Linked DNA regions of Homo sapiens: region 2 is linked to region 1. The links are contacts of gene promoters, found by promoter capture Hi-C in human tissues and cell types (Jung and others, 2019). All regions are on one chromosome and are shown on one strand. The core of a region is centred on a gene start or on the middle of the fragment in contact, and the rest is flanking DNA. Distances in the headings are between cores, read along the strand shown.

What was found. Contacts are between HindIII fragments. The study calls those that stand out against the background at their distance.
Region 2: a fragment that was not itself captured here is called in contact with the fragment with the promoter of KCNIP2 in region 1 in 2 of the 25 tissues and cell types used here (spleen and thymus).

Annotation. Positions count from the first base shown.
Region 1 is chr10:101,841,005-101,847,713 of GRCh38, forward strand. It overlaps KCNIP2 (potassium voltage-gated channel interacting protein 2), which reads right to left and starts at 2,796. Exons shown (of 10, transcript NM_173191.3): 1 at 2,492-2,796. The coding sequence starts at 2,564. ARMH3 (armadillo like helical domain containing 3) reads right to left here. Exons shown (of 26, transcript NM_024541.3): 26 at 4,595-6,616. The coding sequence ends at 6,524. RefSeq lists an enhancer at 2,308-2,813 and a silencer at 2,769-3,018. The HindIII fragment of the contact is 20,872 bases long and covers 1-6,709 here.
Region 2 is chr10:101,914,554-101,921,169 of GRCh38, forward strand. All of the region lies in intron 23 of ARMH3 (armadillo like helical domain containing 3), which reads right to left. Among named protein-coding and RNA genes, the nearest start is that of KCNIP2, 74 kb to the left of the region's middle. The HindIII fragment of the contact is 5,435 bases long and covers 1-5,310 here.

The DNA of each region.
Region 1 (6,709 bases), core at 1,546-4,045:
GCCTTTCCCCTCGGAACCGCACTGCCCAGCGGCCCCGCCGGGCTGGGAAGACCTGAGGGATTAGACAGGGGTCCGGGCGGGGCTCGGACTGTTTTTTGTTTTGTTTTGTTTTCCTAAAGAGTCTCTCCCAGCTCCCTTTTGAGCTTGGGGTGGGAGTGGGGAAGTAAAATGTTCGGAGGTACCCAGGATGCCCTGAGGTGTAACTTTCCAGCTGCTTCCCTGCAAGCCTGATGGGCCGGGAAGACGGGAGCTGCAGACTACCCTAAATCCGATCCCAGGAATCCCAACTGCAGGGAAGGGGAGGCGAAGCCTGGCGCGCGCTTCAGCACCGCGGACAACGACTCCCCTTCATGCTTCAGCTTAGGCATCTCTCAGCGCTCAGAGCTCAGCGCCGCCCGCCCGCCCGGGAGTCTTCGTTGACACTGGCGTCCCAACCCGATTTGTCTCCCGCTATAAAATAAGCCGCCCTTCGAGAGGAGAGCTCCTGGTAGTCCTATTTCTACTTTCCAAGTCGTGTGTGGAGCTATCTACAGCTAGGCTGCTGTAGACCCGGACCACAATTCTTGATACTTGTCAACATTTGACCTTTCCATTTTCCTTGGGAGGTAGGCAGGCAGGCAGGAAGTAACATTCCCTTTTACAGATGAGAAAGGTGAGGCCAAGAGAACAAAAGTCACATAGCTGGTACACTTCCATTCCTGACTGAACTGGGGCAGGGCATCTCCAAATACAAATGCTTCCCCCACCCAATCTCATTCAAATAGCCAAGTGGGGAAGGGATGGTTTCACTAAGGGTGAGAACCCATTAAAGCTGGAAGCAAACACTGACTAATGTGATACTATTGAAGGCCCCTAGGCCCTTACTACTCTCAAGAATCCTAAGCTGGTGATGGGAACAGAATTCATGGAAGAGCTGGACAGTGGGTCCTTTGGATTCCATCCAGCTCTGAGGCACATCTGGCATGGTCTCTCATCTGGGGCCAGCCTGAGTGGCTCCCCTGATCCTGACTAGGGCCTCCCTAGGGACAGTGATGGGGGATGGGGGAAGACACATGCTCAAGGCACCTCATCCTAGTCCCCTCCCCCTTCCCAGGTCTCAATCTCACTCCCCTCAGGAAGGACAAGGATCATGGCCTCCCTCCACCTCCCCAGCTTTGTTTTGGCCTCAGGGAGACAGCCTCCCTCCTCCCACTCTGCTGGCTTTCTAGAGCAGGCTGCACAATGAGAGACACAAACACATACATGGAAATGTACCCAGGGTGACACAGTCACCTACACAAACACATGGCTCTTCCTACCAAACCCAGGAACATGCACATGCACAGATGTACTGGCCTCACATACCTCCCCATGTGGGAAAGAGAGGATGCCCGGGCAGCCAAGTGGTTTGGTGGACATGCAGGACACCACATGGCACTTCCCAGGCCTAGAGCTTCTAGCTCTGTCTCTGGAGGGGAAGGAAGAGGATGTGTTTTCCTGGGGTTTGAGTGAAGTTCTGAAAGGTTTGTTGGGGGTTGAAGGATTCAGTTGTAAGAATAATCTCAGTACATGATTTGGTGTGGGGAGAGAGGGCTGACCCAGCACTAACTAAAGCCTCCCTACAGGGGCCAGGTGCTGGAGCCATAAGGTCTCTTGGAAACCAGACTGGGCAGCTGAACACTAAAGTCCCTCCTTGGGTCCACCTGGGCTATTTGTGGAAAAATTGGTGAAGGAGTGGGGTGTACTAAAGACCCCTATCTGTACCAGGAAGCCAGAGAGGCAGCAGGGATGAGACACGTCATAGACACTCACAGAGCCCCGCTGCAGACATCACCACATGAAAGTACACAACTAGCACTGAACACTAATCTCACAACCACAAAACACAACACAACCTACTTTAACAAATTCTTGCCCAGAGGGCTTATGGTCATGAAGGCTTACAAAGAGACAAGCCACCCTAAAGTAGAGCCCTGACACATTCTGGTAGTTACACACCACTTCATACAGAATTACACACTCACAACACATCGTTGCACATAGAGACACATGGTCAAAACAACTTCATCAGTACAACCAGGGTCCTACGCAAACTCAAACATCTGACGAGACCATACAATTGCACTGCCACATACAATCACACTCACCCTAGCTGTCACCAAGCCCAGGGCACATGGCAACCAGCTGTGGGAGGTGCGCGCGCACACACACACACACACACAGAATGACAGGTGCTCACGCACGTAACACCTCCCACTCCAGACACCCTCTCAGCCCTGTGTCACATACGCCCACACCTGCTGCCTCTCCACACCTGCCTCTTCTGTTCCTCCCCAACCCCTGCGGGACCCAAGGCTTTGAACCCCCAGTGTCCTGCCGCCCAGACCGGCCATAAGAGTGCCTGGGAATGGGGCAGAGTGTGGGTGCGGGCCAGGCCGGGGTCGGAGAGGCGGAAGGGTCTGGAGGAATGGAATCCACCCTCCCTCCCGCGACCCCCACGTCACTGACTCACCCGTGAGCTGGTCGTAGGAGCCGTCCAGGTCTCGGGAATCGGACAAACTCTCCTTGCGGCCCTGGCCCCGCATGGCCCCCGGCGCCCCGCTCCCGCCCGGGCCGTGGGAGGGGGCGCCGGGTGGCCGGGATAGGGCGCTCACACGGCGCCCCCTGGCGGCCTACTGTGCTGTCGGGGCTGGGGAAGTCCGGGCTGAGGCTGAGTCTGGGAATGGGCCCGGGGTCTGAGGTCTACCCGGAGGTCCTGGAGCAGGAGAGGGAACACTAGGCAGCAGGTGAGCGCAGAGCCGGAGGCAGAGCGGAGCTGAGCGCGGAGCCGAGCCGAGCTGCCTCTCTCCTCCCGCCCCCTCCCCGCGGCTGTCACCGCCTCCTCCCCTCTTTGGCGCTGCCGGGATTGGCTCCCCCTACCCCCGCCCCCCACCCTTTGCAGCCCGGGGGAGGCACCCGGTGAAAGGGTGAACTGCAAAGTGCGGGGAAGGAGACTAGCTCCCCAGCAATCTGCCCCTAAAGCAGAAGTCACGGGGCTTGGCGGGGGGGGGGGGTGGGGGAGGAGGAGAGCGCGGGACAGAAGAGCCCCACTGAGAGGAGGAAACCCCGCCCCCAATTCTCAGGCACCCCGTCCCCCTTCGTCAACACAGTTCTGGCTGAGGCAGAGCCTGGGGTATCATATCTGAGTCCCCGCTCCGTTTGTCTCCATGTCAGCCTGTATTTTCTCTGTTGTTCCTCCTCCCGTGTATGCGTCTCTCGTGGTCCCAGACAGTCCCCACCGTGCTTAAAGCAGGTTAGGGATGCAAAGGAAGAGTCAACCCAGCCTCTAATATTAGCAGGCTCATCGTGGGCCAATGGACTACTGTTTCATCTTCTCTCAAGTTCCAGAAGGACCCCAACTCTCACCCACTCCAGGACCCCGTCTCTGGAACCTATTCACTCTCAGGGTGCCTCCTTCACTGATCTAATGAACCCCATAGGCCGACTAGGAAGATAAAAAAACTAGTGAACCAGGTCAGTTTCTCAAGACATCCTTGCTCTTTTGTTCCTCCCCTGCAGCAACTTTTCTGCCCTTCTCTTTTGTCACCTGTCCTGTCCTAGATTCCTTGTTTTCCAGCAGATATGGGGAGCAACTGACAGGTTTGGGGATCCAAGTCAGGATACAGAGTAGGAAAGAAATGCCCTTGTTATGAAACCCCTTCCTTAAGATTAGCTCCTTTCCAAAGGCAGGGCTAGCACGGAAGCTGGGCTGCCTCATCTCCCAGGAATGGATCCTGAGTGTTTTGAGCGTCACAGGTCTGACCTTCCTCAGGATGCTTCCTGGGCTCCACACCCAAAAGCCCCCCAACCCGTTGCTATGAGGATGAGGGGACCTTGTCTGGTGGGTCCAAAGGAGTGACCTGTTAAGACCAAAAACTTTAAAGTGACTCAAGCACACTTAATCTCTTCAATTGGCTTTAATTTCCAACCACTTGATTTAATCAACCCAGCAGGAATTGTGGCGGGAGTTCAGGCCTAAGAGGGGGACAAGTGGCTGAGGGTAAGATTGTCTTTAGGAGCAATGCCCTGCGCTTGGATCTCCCTTGGCTCTGGAGGAGGCTCCACAGACCTGGTATAGAGGCTGGGCATAGAAAGTGCTTGGGCAGCTCCTGTTAAGGTTGATTTCCAGGAGAGAATGGGCACTCTCGTTTGGAGTTCTGGGATAGGTATATGTGAATAAACTGGTCAAGAGAAGGGCCTTTACAATGGAGGGCAAGGAGCCCTCTGCTTAGTGCCCCATGCCCTAGACCTGTCCTCATTCACTTGGAGGAAAGGCTGGCAGGAATCCGTAAGTGGCCAAATGGGTTGGCTTGCCTCCTCAATACCACTAAGTTTGGAGATAAGGGAACTAACTCTCTTCTCCCTCCTTCTACCCAGAGGACAAGAGAGGTTACAGCTCTCCGAACCCAACTGACCTCTACTAGGGCCAGGAGACTCAGAGGAAGGAGGAGAGTTCACAAGGGCAGGTAGGGGTCCCCTAGCCAGATGGCAGCAGCACCTAGGAGATTACCTTACCTCTATCTTTGAGGAATGAGTCTGGGCAACAGAGATTAAGGAAAAAAAAAGCAACACTAAAGACAGTCCCACACAAATCAATTTTTAATAATTTCAACTTGCCACCAGCTCCAAATCCAGCTGCCTTGGGGATTTATCACCAGGGAAAACACTAAATGCCCCAGGCTGAGCTATCCATCCAGTGATCAGATGACCCAGCCTGTGATCTCTTAAGAACCTACATCTACACATGGCAGCCTGTTAGTGGCTTCTCTGGAACTAGTGCATAGCTGCTCAATGTTAGAGCCAGAACTCTGGTTCCCAGGGAGGGCGAGTATCCCAAAGAGATTTGAGGTTAAATGGATGGCAGTCCAGGTGGTCCCAGACATGCTCTCACTGCTGAATTCCTGCACTTACTCCTAGAATATACCAGTGCTGTTTGCTCCCGCCATCCTGAGGGCTTTAGAAAGTGCTTTAAAAAGGGAGGATCTCGAAGCAGCAGCTATTTCAGAGGCAGCTGTTGGGAAAGCCTATAGTGGTTCCATGGAGGCTATCCAAGGGAGGAACCACAAGCCAACTCCCCATAAGTCAGGAGATTTGCCTGTGGCCCCACCCAGAATCTGAGCGGACAGAATGGAGGCCTTATGCATGATGCTCACCTGGCCTGTTTCAGATGGAGGGCACCCTACCCCCAGAAAGTTCTCTCCCTCCCAGGCACTAGACCATGACAGGAATAGATTCCTCCCCAGAGGAAATTCTCAGGCAGGTTGGATGTAAACAACAGCAGGGTAAGGGGGTGGAACACGTGGAGGGGAGCTCAGCAGAGGCAGGAGAGGCTGCCAGAGGAGGGGGGGCTAAGGGAGGTGGGGGAGCTGCTGGAAAGGGAACCAGCAAAGTAGGCACCTTGAGGGCTCCAGAAAGCCTGTCAATGTTTATTTCATACACACCCTAAAGACAGTAAAGCAGATTAGAAATTAAAAGTTAAGGTGGTGACCCTATTGTGCTGATGAGTCAAATGGGCCAGAAGAAGGGGAAAGCTAACGGTACTCCTGGTGCCAAAACTAAAATTCAAAAGGCGGTGACTGGACAGCAGAGCACTGGGCAGATTCTCATCTCCAGTTTTCCCAGAGAAGTCAATTCTGAATTCAGAAAATAGGAAAACTGGCTGGGTGTGGTGGCTCACGCCTGTAATCCCAGCACTTTGGGAGGCCAAGGTGGGTGGATCATGAACTCAGGATATTGAGACCATCCTGGGTAACATGGTGAAACCCCATCTCTACTAAAAATACAAAAAATTAGCCGGGCGTGGCACACGCTCCTGTAGTCCCAGCTACTCGGGAGGCTGAGGCAGGAGAATCGCTTGAACCCAGGAAGCGGAGGCTGCAGTAAAGCCGAGATCACGCCACTGCATTCCAGCCTGGGCGACAGAGTGAGACTCCGTCTCAGAAAAAAAAGGAAAAAGGTACCCTATTCCTATCTTACCCTAAATCTGAGCCAAAGGTCCCGATGACTGGACAAAGTGCCAGTGCAGGCAGGGGACACAGATTTCAAGCCAAGCACAGCCCCAGGCCCAAAGGAAGCAGGATGTAGCTCCAGCTATATCTGAGAGTTGATCTGTTTTCAGAAGCCGAGCAGAGCCACTGACTTTCAGGGTGCTGGCATTACCCTGAGGCTTGCCTCACCAGCTCCCGAAAATTAGTCAGTAGCTACAGCTTGTAACCTCAAGATTGGAAATGTGAGGGGCTGTTTAGGGAGCCCACTCTGGAAGTCCCCACATTCCTGGAGGCCTCTCCCCACTGTGCCCACCCATTCCTCCCCAAATAAGATTATCCCTGGCTTGACCCTCCTGCCCCTGCTGCCCAAGCTCCATTGAAGTGCGGTCTTCACCAAGAGAACTTGGTATCTGTGTTTCTCTCCAACCTCGGGGGCAGCCCCCTCTCCCCTCGCTCCCCCTCCAGCCCATGATCCTCATGGGTAAGGGCAGTCAGAGGCTGCTCAGGTAGGCGTGGCCTCAGGAGATAGTGGAGAACTCCTTGAGCAGGACTTCTTGGCTGAGTGTGTGGAAGGCCAGGTTTCTCCGGACGTTGGTGCTAATGGATCGAACCTGGGAAAGGGTAGTTGGGGAAGGTGGGAGGGCGCAGCCAGAGAGAAAACAGGAGAGAGTCAGTTCTAAACGGCAGAGGACAGTGCCTGCTAC
Region 2 (6,616 bases), core at 1,343-3,842, 73 kb after region 1:
ACCTGTTTACTCAGTCAAAAACTTAAAATGGGCTGGGTGCGGTGGCTTATGCCTATAATCCCAGCACTTTGGGAGGCCGAGGCAGGTGGATCACCTTAGATCAGGAGTTCGAGACCAGCCTGGCCAACATGGTGAAACCCCGTCTCTACTAAAAATACAAAAATGAGCTGGGCATGGTGGCAGGCTCCTGTAATCCCAGCTACTTGGGAGGCTGAGGCAGGAGAATCGCTTGAACCTGCGAGGTGGAGGTTGCAGTGAGCCAAGATCACAGCTATTACACTCCAGCCTAGGTGACAGTGAAAATCCATCTCAAAAAAAAAAAAAAAAAAAAAGCAAACTTATAATGCCATCTTATAATTCTTATAATTTATTTCCCTATTAAAACTTATTTTTACAAGGTTAATTACAGCTTTTTGTTACTTTCTACACTCTGCAAGTATTCGTAACCATGATAAATAAGGATAAGAAAATAAGAAACCATTTGACATAGATGGCTATTTGAGAGTCTCATTTCTGTTTAGTTTAGTTCAACTCTAACCAAAATGATTCAAGTCCTGCTCCAATAGTAGACTTCATCTAGTATATCTGCATTATTTATCACACTAGGAGGAGGAGAAGGGACAGATTTTTATAAAAAGGGATACAAATCAATAAGAGGCTTTAACAGATGGGGTCTTGGTTGAGGGCCCCAGCAGCCTCTTCAGGTCCAGTGCTGAAAATCATTCAGCTGAAAGACCCAGGGACATTTGTTCAGCAAGTCACTTAGGGAATCAGCATCTTGCTAAATGTAACCTACCTGGTCTGAGACAAAATGATGGCTACACATCTGCTCAGAGTAGTCAGCAGTGAGCACACTAAGTTGCAGCCACAGAGCAATATTCAGTATTATTGCTGCAAGTAATGCAATACTACTATCACCATGTATGCCCCCTTCCTGAGCAACTGAATAGAGATAGTTTGGCATTTGGGAAGGCATTTCAAGTTGACCATGAGAAGCAAACACTGTATACACACAGTTCAGATCACTGGAGACGTGGCAGAAAGGGAGGAAGGAGGCACAGTAGCTGTCTGCAATAGTTTAGCATTCATGGTTCACCTATCCCTGGGTCCCTGATATTGTGCAAATCTGCCTTACAAACCCACAGTGTGATGAAGCTTTCTGCCCCAGTCTAAGTACAGAGGGGAGTGGAAGTTGTCTCTGAAGTTAGTTCTGGGACAGCAATATCCCTTGGCACTATTGCAAGTCCTTTTTTTTTTTTTTTTTTTTTGAGACGGAGTCTCGCTCTCTCACCCAGGTTGGACTGCAGTGGCACTACCTCGGCTCACTGCAAGCTCCACCTCCCGGGTTCATGCCATTCTCCTGCCTCAGCCTCCGGAGTAGCTGGAACTACAGGCGCCCACCACGGCGCCTGGCTAATTTTTTTGTATTTTTAGTAGAGACGGGGTTTCACCGTGTTAGCGAGGATGGTCTCGATCTCCTGACCTCGTGATCCGCCCGCCCCGGCCTCCCAAAGTGCTGGGATTACAGTGTGAGCCAGCACGCCTGGCCTATTCCAAGTCTTATAATACACAGTTCAACAGTAGTAGGGCCCAGACAGAAGAAATAACAAAGCTTTAAAATGAAAGCTCAATCCAGAGAACTCAAATAATTAGATTCAATCCATAAAGTGGGGAAATGATCTATGTCTGATGGCTATCAATGAGGTCCAAGATCTTAATTGTGCTTTCCTTCTCAAAATAACCCTCTCATCAGTATATAGATTTATATAATGCAAACACCTAAGGAAAACCATCAGCAACCTACCCCCCACCCCCATCCCAGCTCCCACTCAAAAACAAACAAACAAAACAAACCTGGGAATTTGTAAGAAATATGAAGAAAATACAAATCCTCCAATTATAACTCCTGTCATTCAAATTATTTTCAAAAGGTTGCCACACATAAAGTATGGAAACTATGGTCAGAAGTTGAATCTCTTACCCTTCCCTGTGAAGAACTATTCTTTTTCTGATTTTTAAAATTAAGGAATAACTTTCATACAGCAAAACTTACCCTTTTTAGTGTTGTAATGGTTAATTTTATTATCAACTTGACTGGATTAAGGGATCCCTTAATGGTAAATCATTATTTCTGAGTGTGTTGACAGGGGTATTTCCAGGAGACAGATTAGCATTTGAATCCATACACTGGGTAAAGAAGATCCACCCTCACCAATATAAGCAGCCATCATCTAGTCTGTTGAAAGCCCACCTGAATAGAACAAAAGGCAGAGGAAGGGCAAATTCTCTGTTTCTCTTTTCTTGAGCTGGGACGTCCATCTTCTCTTGCCCTTAGACATCAGACATCAGGAGCTCCTGGTTCTCCAGTTTTTGGACTCTAGGACTTACACTAGTACCACCCAAGTTCTCAGTCCTTCAACCTTTAATTGGAAGCCTACAGCATCAGCTCCCTGATTCTACAGCTTGCAGACAGCATATTGTGAAACAACTTGGCCTCCATAATCATGTGAACTAATTCCCATAGCCTATTTCCTCTTGTATAACTATGTATATTTTATTGGTCTGTTTTCTGAAAAACCCTGATACAAGTATACAGTTCTGCAAGTTTTGAAAAATGCATACATCCAGATAATCACCACCACAGTCAAGATACAGAACAGTTTCATCACCTCAAAAGTTCCCCTGTGCCCATTTGTAATCAACCTCTCCTTCCAACCCCAGCCTCTGAAAACAACTGACCTATACCCTGTCCCTATAGTTTTGCCATTTCCAGAATGTCATATAAATGGAATCATACAGCATGTAACCTTTTGGATCTGGATAGTTTCATACTGCATAATGCAACTGAATTAATCCAGGTTGTTGCATGTATCAGTAGTTCATTCCTTTTTACTGTAGAATAGTATTTCATTATATAGATGTACCATAGTTTATCTGTTCCGCCGTTGAGAGACACTTGGGTTGTCCACAGTTTTGACAGTGTATAAATAAAGCCACTATAAACATTTGTCCAATCCAAGTTTTTATTTCACTTGGGTAAACATTTAGGAGTGGACTGCTGGAAGGTCTACTTTGGAAAATATCTGCCTGACTCTATTTATGCTATTTCTATTTAGCAGATATGCAATTTCCCAAGGGAATAGCTGGGTTATTTTCTGTGATGCTTCTCTTTCTGGTCCATCAATATCATTTCTCTGCCCTCCCGGGTATAGGAAACACCTCCAAATCAGTATGACTTACAAACTTCATTAATACTTTGTTTACTTTCAGCCCTAGTTCATTAATACAAATGCTAAATATGCCTGTTCCTCATCAGCACCCTGCAGCATCCCAGGAAATAACAATCTTTCCCAACCACCCCAGCCCCCACACTGGCATTTAGGTTTACAGTCGTTTTGCAGTTCATTTTGCATCAACAGCTTCTTCTCTGTGTTCTTAATAATCAATTTTCAATTGAGCCAAGAATCTCCAGTATATCATGGGGTTTTTTGTTTGTTTGTTTGTTTGTTTTTTTAGACAGAGTCTTGCTCTGTGGCCCAGGCTGGAGTGCAGTGGTGCAATCTTGGCTCGGCTGACTGCAACCTGCACCTCCCGGCTTCAGGCGATTCTCCTGCTTCAGTCTCCCAAGTAGCTGGGACTACAGGTGTGCACCACCACACCCAGCTGATTTTTGTATTTTTAGTAGAGACGGGGTTTCACCATGTTGGCCAGGCTGGTCTCGAACTCCTGACCTCAAGTGATCCGCTGCCCTCGGCCTCCCAAAGTGCTGGGATTACAGGCGTAAGCCACTGCGCCTGGCCATCCAGTATATTATCTTTAATAACTATAGGAAAACCAAACAGAGCTTTCCCCAACTCATTCATAGTTAGTCTACTTTTTGCCTATCATGGCAAAAAATGTGGCCACTTAGAAAACTGGAAGTGTTAATTCCCTAACATCAGCCTGTAAGCAAGTTTGGACTTTCTTACCCCTAAAACAGATAGTATCCCATCCTAAAAACAGTCTTTCAAATACATGCTGTATTAATTAAACTAGAGAACAGAATAAAATGTCAGCATAATTAACATACGAAGCAACAGTATGGCCTGATTAATCACCATGAAGAGCAATCGAATAAAATACTATGCATTTTTATGGAGCAATTTAATCTGGCAAGTAATTAATCACAGAAACACTAAGCAAAACAAATGGATTTCCCTTTAAGGAAGTCACATTTATCATTTGTAATGTATCCCTAACTCTAATTTGTTATCCCAATTCAAAATTGTCTAGGAGACAATGAATTGACAGGCTTAGTAGAACACTGATTTCTGATGAAAAAGAACATCCAGCTTTTCAAATCAAGTTATAGTCCTGCAGCACTCAAAGAGCTCAGGTTTGTGGGGCACAGGTATGTGGCATTAGGCATGGAAGGCTTAACCTAAATCTAAATCTAGGTCAGTTTAGTCAAATCTATAGATAATTAAATGACTTGTGAAAATATTTAGTATTAAGAGTAACAATTATAGATCACAGATATTACCAAAACCCCAAAGGGAGGACCCTCAGCAGAAGAAAACAGAGCTTTTGGTCTTCAGAACAAGCAAAAAGGGGGAGGGGGCATATCAACGCAGTGAGATTTAACTCAAAGAAATTCCTTTGTTCCCTCCTTCCCTCCCTTTCTTCTCTCCTTCTCTCCGTCCCTTCCTTTCTTTTTGTCTTAAACAATGACCCATTTTCCTTGAGCCCCCAACAGCCTCACCAGTTTGAAGAACACCAACAGGCTGATGTTTTGAATGGTCATTCAAAGGCAGAGTGACACACATTAGCTAAGGCTATCTTCATATCTCCTTCTTCCCAGCTCCCTCTCTGCTTGGCTACATTCGAGACTAGATGAACAGCCCTTTCTTTGCCAACGAAGCTCACAGCACTTTATAAGCCTTTCCCTTAATAGTCCCATCTCTCGCTGACTTTATTTCTCTCTGTGCTGTTCTTAGAGGGCTTTGCTTCTCTTCTTAGCAGACCCCTGTAGGCTGAAGCACATGGCAAAGTTCCAGGCTTCTGGTGGCTGCGGCACAGTGGTTTGTTCTTTACTGACCTGCTTGATCTCCAATGCTGGATCCTACGAAACATTCAATACTTACTAAACTGTACCGGGAGAGTTGTGCTTTTCACACTCCACCTTGTCTCTGCTCACTATTTAAGAAATGCTGTTGCAGATATCCTATTTATCCCAGAGCATTTCTTCTAGATTTTAACCCTTACCTTTTTCCTTCAAACCTTTTACTCTAGTATTTCTGGGCTGTACCACTGGCTTAACGTAGATTCTTATCCTCTGCCTGGCCCTTCAGTCAATTTCTCTTCTGGAGAGTCCGCCTGGCATTTTTGTTCAGTGTTTCTCTGAGCTTCTGTCTCTGAATTGCCCTTGTTGGCTCCCTCCATCAGCCCAATAACTGAAGTACCATTACTCCCAGCTAATCCTAGATCAGGCCCAACCAATATCCTAAATCCTCACTTCTCTAAGAGAAAGGAACTCTATGTTTGTTTATCTATTTTCGAGAAAGAGTCAATGTGTCACTAAGATGAGTGAGACATAGATGCTTCCTGCCTTCAAAGAGCTCACAGCCTAGTCAAGAGGACAACAGATAAGTAGACAGTTGCTGCTGTAGTGTGGCCAGGCCTGGCTCTAAGGATGAAGTGATGCTCAAAATGCACTATTTCAGGAGGTGAGTTGACAAGTTGGGAAAGGACATTCTAGGCAGGGAGGAATGGTATATCCAAAAGGCCTGGACTATAAAACAGTTTGTCCAGAGAATTCTAAGTGTCTCTGGTTTGTCCAGAGAACTCCAGGTGGTCTGGCATAGCTGCAGTGAGGTGACAGATAAGGACAGAGATTCTAGAAATAAGATGAAGAATGGCAATGCAGGCTACCCTACAGAGCTTAAATGTTTTTCTGTGGTGATGAGAGGGGCCAGCGAGGGGACAAGCACAGAGAGAAAAACGAGACAGAAAGAGGCAGGCAAGATGACAGGTGAGATCAGAGACTATGAGAATCCAAGTGAAAAAGAAATATGAACAATAAATAAACTGTGGTACAGTTATGCAATAATAAAATACTGCTCAGCAATAAAAAGGAACTAACTACTAGATACTTGCACAAGCAATGTTCAGAGCAGTATCATTCATAGTAGCCAAAAGGCAGAAGCAACCCAAGGGTCACCAACAGATAACTGGATAAACAAAATGTGGTATATACATACAATGGAACATTATTCAGCCTTGAAAAGGAAGGAAATTCTGACATATGCTACAACATGGATGAACCCTGAGGATATTATGCTAAGCAAAATAAGCCAGTCACAAAAAGATAAATACACTATGATTCCACTATAAGGTATCTAAAATAGTTAAATTTATAGAGACTCAAAGTAGAATGGTGGTTGGCAGGGGCTGGGGAAGGGGAAAATGGGGAGTTGTTTAATCAGTACAATTTCAGTTTTGCAAGATGAAAAAGTTCTAGAGATCTGTTGCACAACAATGTCAATATACTTAATGCTACCAAACTTAACAAATCATTAGGATGGCAAATTTTATATTTCTTACCACAATTTAAAATCTTAAAAACGTTTTTTAAAAG